Regions from separate parts of the Homo sapiens genome. Here region 2 is linked to region 1. The links are contacts of gene promoters, found by promoter capture Hi-C in blood cells and fetal thymus (Javierre and others, 2016). All regions are on one chromosome and are shown on one strand. Each heading gives the region's core, a stretch centred on a gene start or on the middle of the fragment in contact. The rest is flanking DNA. Distances are from core to core; before and after follow the strand shown. Region 1 holds the start of POLR2L (RNA polymerase II, I and III subunit L). Region 2 overlaps LOC124902605.

What was found. The method cuts DNA at HindIII sites, captures the fragments that hold promoters and counts their contacts. A CHiCAGO score of 5 or more calls a contact.
Region 2: a fragment that was not itself captured here is called in contact with the fragment with the promoter of POLR2L in region 1 in 8 of 17 cell types (fetal thymus, endothelial precursors, naive CD8 T cells and 5 more); the score reaches 6.8 in fetal thymus.

The regions. Positions count from the first base shown.
Region 1 is chr11:839,736-843,791 of GRCh38, reverse strand. POLR2L (RNA polymerase II, I and III subunit L) reads left to right here and starts at 1,263. Exons shown (of 2, transcript NM_021128.5): 1 at 1,263-1,378; 2 at 3,312-4,056. The coding sequence starts at 1,284. The coding sequence ends at 3,420. TSPAN4 (tetraspanin 4) reads right to left here and starts at 940. Exons shown (of 9, transcript NM_003271.5): 1 at 877-940. RefSeq lists silencers at 268-436, 422-651, 672-761, 872-1,501, 3,730-3,779 and enhancers at 770-1,513, 1,514-2,259, 2,260-3,004. The HindIII fragment of the contact is 22,784 bases long and covers 1-2,689 here.
Region 2 is chr11:1,049,926-1,053,981 of GRCh38, reverse strand. LOC124902605 reads right to left here. Exons shown (of 4, transcript XM_047427955.1): 2 at 4,020-4,056; 3 at 2,139-2,359. LINC02688 (long intergenic non-protein coding RNA 2688) reads right to left here. Exons shown (of 4, transcript NR_160890.1): 1 at 4,020-4,056; 2 at 2,139-2,359. Among named protein-coding and RNA genes, the nearest start is that of LINC02688, 2.1 kb to the right of the region's middle. The HindIII fragment of the contact is 1,775 bases long and covers 838-2,612 here.

The DNA.
Region 1 (4,056 bases), core at 14-2,513:
GCAAACCAGCCCAGAGCCCCCCATGGGTGCCGCTTTGCGGCCCACCCACCCCCACAGCCCACCTCGCACCTCCAAGGAGCCTTCTTTGCCTCTCACTGCACACCGACCCCCCATTTCCTCACCCCCACCCCAGGGGCACAGCAAGAAGGGTGCTGGTGCCAGCCCCCCCGCACTCCATCCGAGAGACACGGGCTCCTCGTCCCTCGTCGTCCGTAGGCCCTGAGCTCCAGGGCAAGCCAGAGCTGAGGCCTTCAGGGGGTCCTGCCAGTGCAGCCTCCGGGAGTCTGCCCAGGGATCCCCTGTGCCGGGGTCTTCCAGGTTCAGCTCAAAAAGCACCTCTTCCACGACTCCCTCCCCGACCTCCCTCCCGGGTCCCCTCTCCCCGTGCTCAGAGGCGCGTCTGAGCGTCGGGAGCTCGGGACGGCGAGCAGCCAGCAGAGCCGGGACCCGGGAGGGCGCACCCCGACCCCATTCCCGGGAAAGAGCGGAAAGAACGCGGACAGGAGCCCGGGGCGGGGAGCTGCCGGCGGGGGCTGTAATTGCGCAGCTGAGGCCAGGGCGGCGCCCCTAGGGGCTGGGCCGCGTCCAGAATGGGACCCCCGAACTCAGCGCCGAGAGCCCCGGACACCCCGCGGGCAGAGGCCGAGGCGGAGGAACCCACTACTCGGCGCGGCCAGGAGGGGCGGCAGGAAGACCCGCCCCGGCCCCCGCCCGCCCTCTCCCCGAGCCCCCGCGCCGGACCCCACTTGTTGCTGCGTGTCGGCTCTGGGCTCGAACTCGCGCGCCCCGCTCGCGTCCGGCTCCAGCCGCTCCCGGTCGGACACCTCCGGCCACGGGACCCTGGCCGCACGCCCCCACAACCCCCAGGCGCAGTACCTGCGCCGCCGCCTCCCGCTCGCGCCGCCCGCTCCCGCCGCGCAGCTGTCAGTCAAGCGGACACGAGAAACGCGAACCGCCGCCGCAGCTTTACGGCCCTGCTCAGACGCCGTAGCGCCGGGATGCACCAAGACGGTGGGCGGGGGTGTGCGGTCTGCTGCTGCCGCGGCCGCGCGGGCCCGGGAGCCCCGGGACGCACAGGCCCAGGAGCCCCGGGACGCACGGGAAGCCCCTATCGCGGCGGAAACTGCGGCCAGCGGTGGCGGGGCCGGTGGAGGGACGGCCGGAACAGCGGAGAACGAGCGGAGCCGATTCTCCCGCAACAGTGGACGCGCCCGGGGCGGGGCCTGGGGGGGTTCTTCGCGTGCGGCCGGGCCGGGCCGGGCAGTCTGGGACGCGCCGCCGCCATGATCATCCCTGTACGCTGCTTCACTTGTGGCAAGATCGTCGGCAACAAGTGGGAGGCTTACCTGGGGCTGCTGCAGGCCGAGTACACCGAGGGGTGAGGCGCGGGCCGGGGCTAGGGGCTGAGTCCGCCGTGGGGCGCGGGCCGGGGCTGGGGGCTGAGTCCGCCCTGGGGTGCGCGCCGGGGCGGGAGGCGCAGCGCTGCCTGAGGCCAGCGCCCCATGAGCAGCTTCAGGCCCGGCTTCTCCAGCCCCGCTCTGTGATCTGCTTTCGGGAGAACCTTATCCCCTGAAGTCTGGGGAAGAGAACGGAGTTGGGCTTCAAACCAGTGGTGTCCTGGGGATTCTAGGTGGCCTGGCGGGTCGCAGGCGTCTTGTCACCCGCAGTAAAGCCCTTGGCCTCCGCCCTATTCCCATCTCTGCCCCCAGGCCCACCCCATGTCCTGCAAACCTCGCTGCAGGACGGGCGGGCGCGGCGGCTGACATCTGTAATCCCAGCAGTTTGGGAGGCCGAGGCGAGAGGCTTGCTTGAGCCCAGGAGGTCGAGACCAGCCTGGACAACCTGGGGAGACCCTGATCTCCAGAAATTTATTTTATTTTATTTTTCTTTTTTGAGACGGAGTCTCGCTCCGTCGCCCAGGTTGGAGTGCAGTGGCGCGATCTCGGCTCACTGCAACCCCCGCCTCCTGGGCTCCAGCAATTCTCCTGTCTCAGCCTCCCGAGTAGCTGGGACTACAGGCGTGTGCCACCACGCCCGGCTAATTTTTGTATTTTCAGTAGAGATGGGATTTCGCCATGTTGGCCAGGCTGGTCTGGAACTCCTGACCTCAGGTGATCCACCCGCCTCGACCTCCCAAAGTGCTGAGGTTACAGGCGTGAGCCACCGCGCCTGGCTCTATCTTTTTAATTCGCCGGACATGGCGGTGCACACCTGTGGTCCCAGCTACTTGGGAGGCTGAGACGAGAAAATCGCTTGAGTCTGGGAGGCAGGTGGAGGTTGCAGTGAGCCAAGATCACGCCACTGCACTCCAGCCTGGAAGAGAGAGTGAAACTCCGTCTCACGCACACACACACACAGAAAAAGAAATGCAGGGTAGACTTGCTGACCACCCTCATCAGGCTTTGTAGGGGAGGCGTCTTTCTCCTGTGCTTGTCCCTTGGTGCTGCTGTCACCACGGTGCCTGAGTCTTGGTGCCCCCGCTGGAGTCTGACCCTCGCCCACTGAGTCTTCGTCACATGTGAAGCCCTGGGCTTGTGTGCGCCAGCCTGCCATCGGCACTTGGTGCAGCTTGCTGGACAAACGAGGAAAGCGAGTGGGCTGCTAGACTGAGTGGCTGGCGGCCTGTCCAGACCCTTTCCCCGGATAGGAACGGCAGGGGCCTCCCATGTGGCCTCCCCTTTCCCAAGCTTCTGTGTCTCTGCACATTGGAGCCATCGGTGTGGGAGTTTTCTGGAGGTCTTGAGGGTGACTGGAGCTAGGTCCCAGGGAAATGAAAGCTTCTAATTGGCTTGGGAAGTGGGAGAGGTGGCTCCGTGGAGAAGCAGTCTCTCTCTGATGGAAGGAAGCAGAGGTGAGGAAAGACCCCACAGCGGCAGAGCAGGGCTTGCTCTGGCTGGGGTGGGGGTGAACCAGCTAAGGGCAGGCCCCTGGAGAGCTACCCTGCCGTGGCCAGTGCTGGATGAGGTGGCTGCACATCAGCACCTTGGTGGTCTTGGTTTTCTAAGCTCCCCGCAATTACTTCGTTTTCATTTCATTTACATTTCTTACATACGTTATACACACACACGTACAGCCAGAGTAGGTGGGAGAGGAGGCTCCTCACGCTCCACCCAGGGTTCTGGGCATTTCCAGGTTACTCCAGCCAGGATCATACTGCTAGATCTCAGCTTCTGAGCCGGGTGAATCTGTTCGCCTTGCCGGTGGCGGGGGGGGTGAGGCCAGCAGGCAGTGAGAGGCAGGTTGGATGTGGGCTCCAGGCCTTTGCAGACCGTAGAGAACTCAGTTGGCCTCTGCTCCTCCCCTCGACACAGGGATGCGCTGGATGCCCTGGGCCTGAAGCGCTACTGCTGCCGCCGGATGCTGCTGGCCCACGTGGACCTGATCGAGAAGCTGCTCAATTATGCACCCCTGGAGAAGTGACCACGCTGGAACCCACCCACCCGCTGTGCTGACCATGGGCCCTGAGCGTCCTGCCCCGAATTCACGAGGCTGAGGCATCCGGGAGCTGGCGTAATGCCTGGCCGCAGTGTGTGTGTATCCGATACCCCACTCTGGAAGGAACCATCCAGTAAAGGTCTTTCAGAACCACTAAGGTCCCAGCCCTCACTAGGATGTCAGGAGCCAGGTCTAGGCCCAGCTTTCACACTGTGGCAGCCCAGTGAAGCAGACTGGGCCATGAACTCTCCTAGCCCTGGGGCCAGCCTGTTCCACAGGCACCCCTGCAGGAGGCGCTGCCAGGAGAGCCTTCCATCTCGGGGCTCTTTGAGGTTCCCTCCTTCTGGGTGTTCTTCAGGCTGAGCAGAGAGGCTCCTGTACCCTCTCTCTCGGAATCTGAAGAGCCAGATTTAGGCCGGGCAAAGGGGCTCACCCCTATAATCCCAGGACTTTGGGAGGCCAAGGCAGGAGGATCACTTGAGTCCAGAAATTCAAGACCCGCCTGGGCATCATAATGAGACCCCATCTCTACAACAAAATTTAATAAATTAGCTGGGCACAGTGTTCACACCTGTAGTCCCGGCCACTCGGGGCTGAGGCAGGAGGATCACTGGAACCTGG
Region 2 (4,056 bases), core at 476-2,975, 210 kb before region 1:
AGGCTTGGGGTGAATTTAGGGCAGGGGTAGGCTGGGGTGAGGGTAATTTGGGGTGGTATGTTAGGGTCAGGACCCTGGGACCACGCTGGGTCTGACGCATTCAAGGGCACTTTGTCAGCCATCAAACGGGGCAAGACGCTCCACCTGGGTGACACAGAGCCGCACAGCCCTGCACCTGTACCTACACCTGGGGCCCCTCCTGTGCCCACAGGGCCTCCCCTGGTCAGCTGGGAGGGCTCTGCTAGCTGCCTCCTATCCCTAAGTGGACACAGTCCCTGGATCCTTCCCCCAGGGCTGGCCACACCCAGCTGACCACTCCCCCAACTCCCCTCTGGGCCCAGGCAGTCACCAAGGGGGTCAGCCGTCCTCAGTCCTCTCAGCCACGCAGGCCTGGGCCTCGGGTAGGGCTGCAGGACACACCTCCCCTACAGCTGGGCAGGTCCATGGTGTCCAGGCAGCCTGCCCTGGCCCGGCCCCAGGTGGTGCCTGGCATGCAGAGGACCGGAAGGCGGCAAGACCCCCGCTGCCAACGCCCCTCTCCGGCCCAGATAAGGTTCTGGGGAAGTCATTTCTTCCAGGCCCAGCTTCGGGAGGGTTGCAGTGTCCACACACATCTCCCCCTGCAGCTCAACCAGGCGCCACGGGAGGCACCCAAACAGCTGTGGGAACTGCAGGAAGGAGGGGAGGAGAGGGCGGGGAGTGGAGGAGGGAGGAGCTGCCCAGGCGTCCCCCGCGTAGGGGTGCAGGCTCCTGGGGATGCTGGGGACTCCAGGTCCTCACTGGCCCTTCCCGGCTGGCCCGCCTTTGCTCTGCATACAGCTGGCGCTCAGCAAAGCTTGCCGCTGCTGATGGACAATTCCATAGCTCACTCCAGCATATCTGTGCCCCAGGAGACGGTGCCCTCCTGGCCCCGGCCTGTGCCCTCTGTGGCCATTGAGGGCCCCGCCAGGCCTGCGGTCACAGGCGGGGCCAGTGCAGGGAGGAGGCCCTGACCACAGCAAAGGGGTCCGCAGCAGGGGAGGCACCAGCGTCCAAGTGCCCGTGCCCAGGGAGGTGCCACCTCTGACACGGACAGGGCTTCAGGCTTGGGACACAGGTGCCGGGGAAGCAGAAGGGAAAGGGAGGGGGCGGAACCCCGGCAGCAGGTCGGCTTGGTGACTGCACACCCCACGGGGGCAGTGGCTTACAGGGACCCACAGCCCAGGAGGGCCTCACCTTCGGCCCCTCCCAGCAGTAGCACCAACTGCCGTGGCCGCCCACACTACCCTCGTCCCGACGGCCACCCACACCAGGCCCTCCGTGGCCAGCACTCCTGTCATCCACATCCCCATCTTGCTGATAAGCGGGCGGTGAGGACACAGGAAACCCAGGCTGTCACCCGCCCAAGTCCGGAGCCAGGATGGGTCCCCCAGGTGGGAGAAGCCTGGTCTCACCCCCAGAGTGGCCCAGCCTGTCCCACAGCCAGGATCTAATGCCAGTCTCCCAAGGAGTGGGCACAGGGGGGTGTCTGGCCCCCCCTTATGGGGAGGGAACTCTCCATGGGGGGCCAGGAGCTGGGGAGCCTCAGGGGTCACAAGAAGCTGGTGGAGCCAGGGAGCCATGGCCACAGCGTGGGGGCAGGTGCCCCAGGAGGGGGAGGGGAGGGCATGGCCTTGGTTGCTACCAGCCCCCGCACTGGCATTCGGGCAGCATGGGGGCACATTTTGGGCCTGGGGGACTGTGCCATCGTGGCCAGGAGCACCTTGAGAAGCCAGGAGGGCTGGCCAGGGTGGGGCAGAGCAGAGCAGGGCAGGGACAATCTGCCCAGACGTCTCACCACCCCTCAGACACCCCCAGACTTGCCTGGGCCAGGATAAATACGCAGTCCTTGCCCCAAGGCCCAGAATTAGGTACGTGGGTACCTGCATGTCTGGCCGGGTCCCCTGCCTCTCTGTGCAGAATCCTGATGCCCCCTGGCAGGCCTAGGGGTTCAGCAGAAGCAGGTTGCAGCCCCCACACCCCTCTAATGGGCCACATAGAAGGTGGGCCAAGGGCAGTGGATGGGGGGCCTGGGACACAGCAGCTGGGACACTGCCCCAGGACCAGGGTCGGGTCCAGGAGTGGAGAACCCAGGGCAGTGACGGGGAGAGCAGACAGACCTGGGTTGAGATGGTGTCTGGGTGGGAGTCCAGGGGGCCGGGGGCCCAGCTTCCCAGGTGCCAGGGGAGCCCCCGCCCCTGAGTCCTTGGTGAGCTGAGTCTCCAGGGTGTGGTGCTCCCAGCATCCTAGCCAGGCCTTGTGGCTGCAGAGGGACAGAAACCAGGCCCAGCTTCCTGCTGGGGGGGTCACCTCTCCCCAGGGGTCCAGGACACCGCTGCATCTGAAAATGAGCAGGAAAGGGGTGCTCAGTGCAGCCTCAGGGCCTTGGGGACCCCCTTGGATCTTGCCAGCTCCCGAAATGCAGAGAGAGAGTCGGGCAGTGGGGCCAGGGCTACAGCCCCCATGTCTCCTCAACGTCTGCCTGGCTCTGTCTACCTCAGGGAACCAGGGCTCCTCATACCGGACCTGGCCTCTACCCGCCCAGGGCGCTTGGAGCAAAGACTGTGGTCCCAGGTTCCCCGACAGTGGAAGCTTCCCTGCCCAGCCCAAGCCGTCTGCAGCCAGACCAGAGGCTGGTGTGGCACCATGGAAGGTTCCGGAGGGCGAGAGCCGTGATGCTGTAGCCCGCCAGCAGGTGGCACCTGGCACCCGCACCACAGCCCGGAGGAGGGCTGGGCAAGGCGTGTGCTCAGGGCCGTGTGGCCCAGGTGTGTGCCTGCGTGTGCCTGCATGTTGGCAAGTCCGGTGCCCGGGTGGCTCTCAGGCATCTTGGGGAGAACAGTCAGCCCACAGCCGGGCCAGAGCCCTCTGGCCCCATTGATGGGAGGCTCTGGGACAGACAGCACTGAGAAGGGAGAGAAGCTGGGCAGGTGGGGCAGGTGGGGCCACCGGGCAGGCGTGAGGGTGACCCTGCCAAGTGGCACAGGGACGATCTGAGTCCTGCAGGGCCCGGCAGCGCCTGAATAATGGGAGAAGCTGTGTGAGCCGTGCACGGGCGGGACAGCAAGGCGGGCGGGCGTGGGTCCTGTACACACGGGTGTGGGTGTGGCTGAGCGACCACTCGCCCTCTCACATCCCCTGCAGTGAGCGTGGGGGCACTGGCCCCTCATTTCCCAGCCCCGCTGGGCCCACCTCCTGCCTGGCCCTCCCAGGGACTGACGTGTGGCCACCTACCCCTCGAACCGCAGGGGTTGCCTGTCCCCGCCTCTGTCCCTGCACCTCAGGCCCATCCCCGCCCTTGTCCCCGCACCTCGGGCCTGTCCCCGCCTTTGTCCCCGCAACTCAGACCTTTGGTGACACCTGTGGGCTCAGGCGCCACATGGGGCCCAGGACACTGGGGCCGCAGCACATCGGGGAGGGGAGGCTGCAGTCTGGGCCCAAGGGCATCCAGCCTCTCCACTCCCTCCCCGGTGACCTTGGGCAGGCTGCCCCCTCTCTGTGCCTGTTTCCTCATCTACGTGGGTACAGAACCCGTCTCCACCTGCAGTAAATCCAGTGATGGCGGGAGTGTCCCGCCAGCTGCACTCTAGGACCCGTTCGCTACAAGGATTGCACTGGGGGATGCCCTGTCCCCAGCTGGCCCGGCTCTGTCATGGCCTGGACCCTCCCTGCCTGGGCACGTCTGACCCAGAGAGAGGGAAGGCCACCAGGGCAACCCCAGAGGCCTGTCCAGCTCAGAGCCAGCCCCTCCTGCACCAGGGTCCCCTGAGATTCACCCTGACAGGCAGCAGGAAGGCAGGGTGCCTGGTGGCCTCCTTCCCCCAGGGATCTGGGGAGGGTCTGGGCTGGGCTCTTCTTTGACAGGCCGCCCGGGCCCCACCTCAGGCCTGGAGGAAAGTGGAGGGGTCCACACCGTGGCCGACCCTGGGACTGGAGACACATGGGCACCAGGACACGCGAGGCCCATGGGGGCCAGGGAAGTCCCCAGAATCCCCACTCACCACTCTGGGGTGGGAAGAGGCAGGGCCAGCCTGTCGA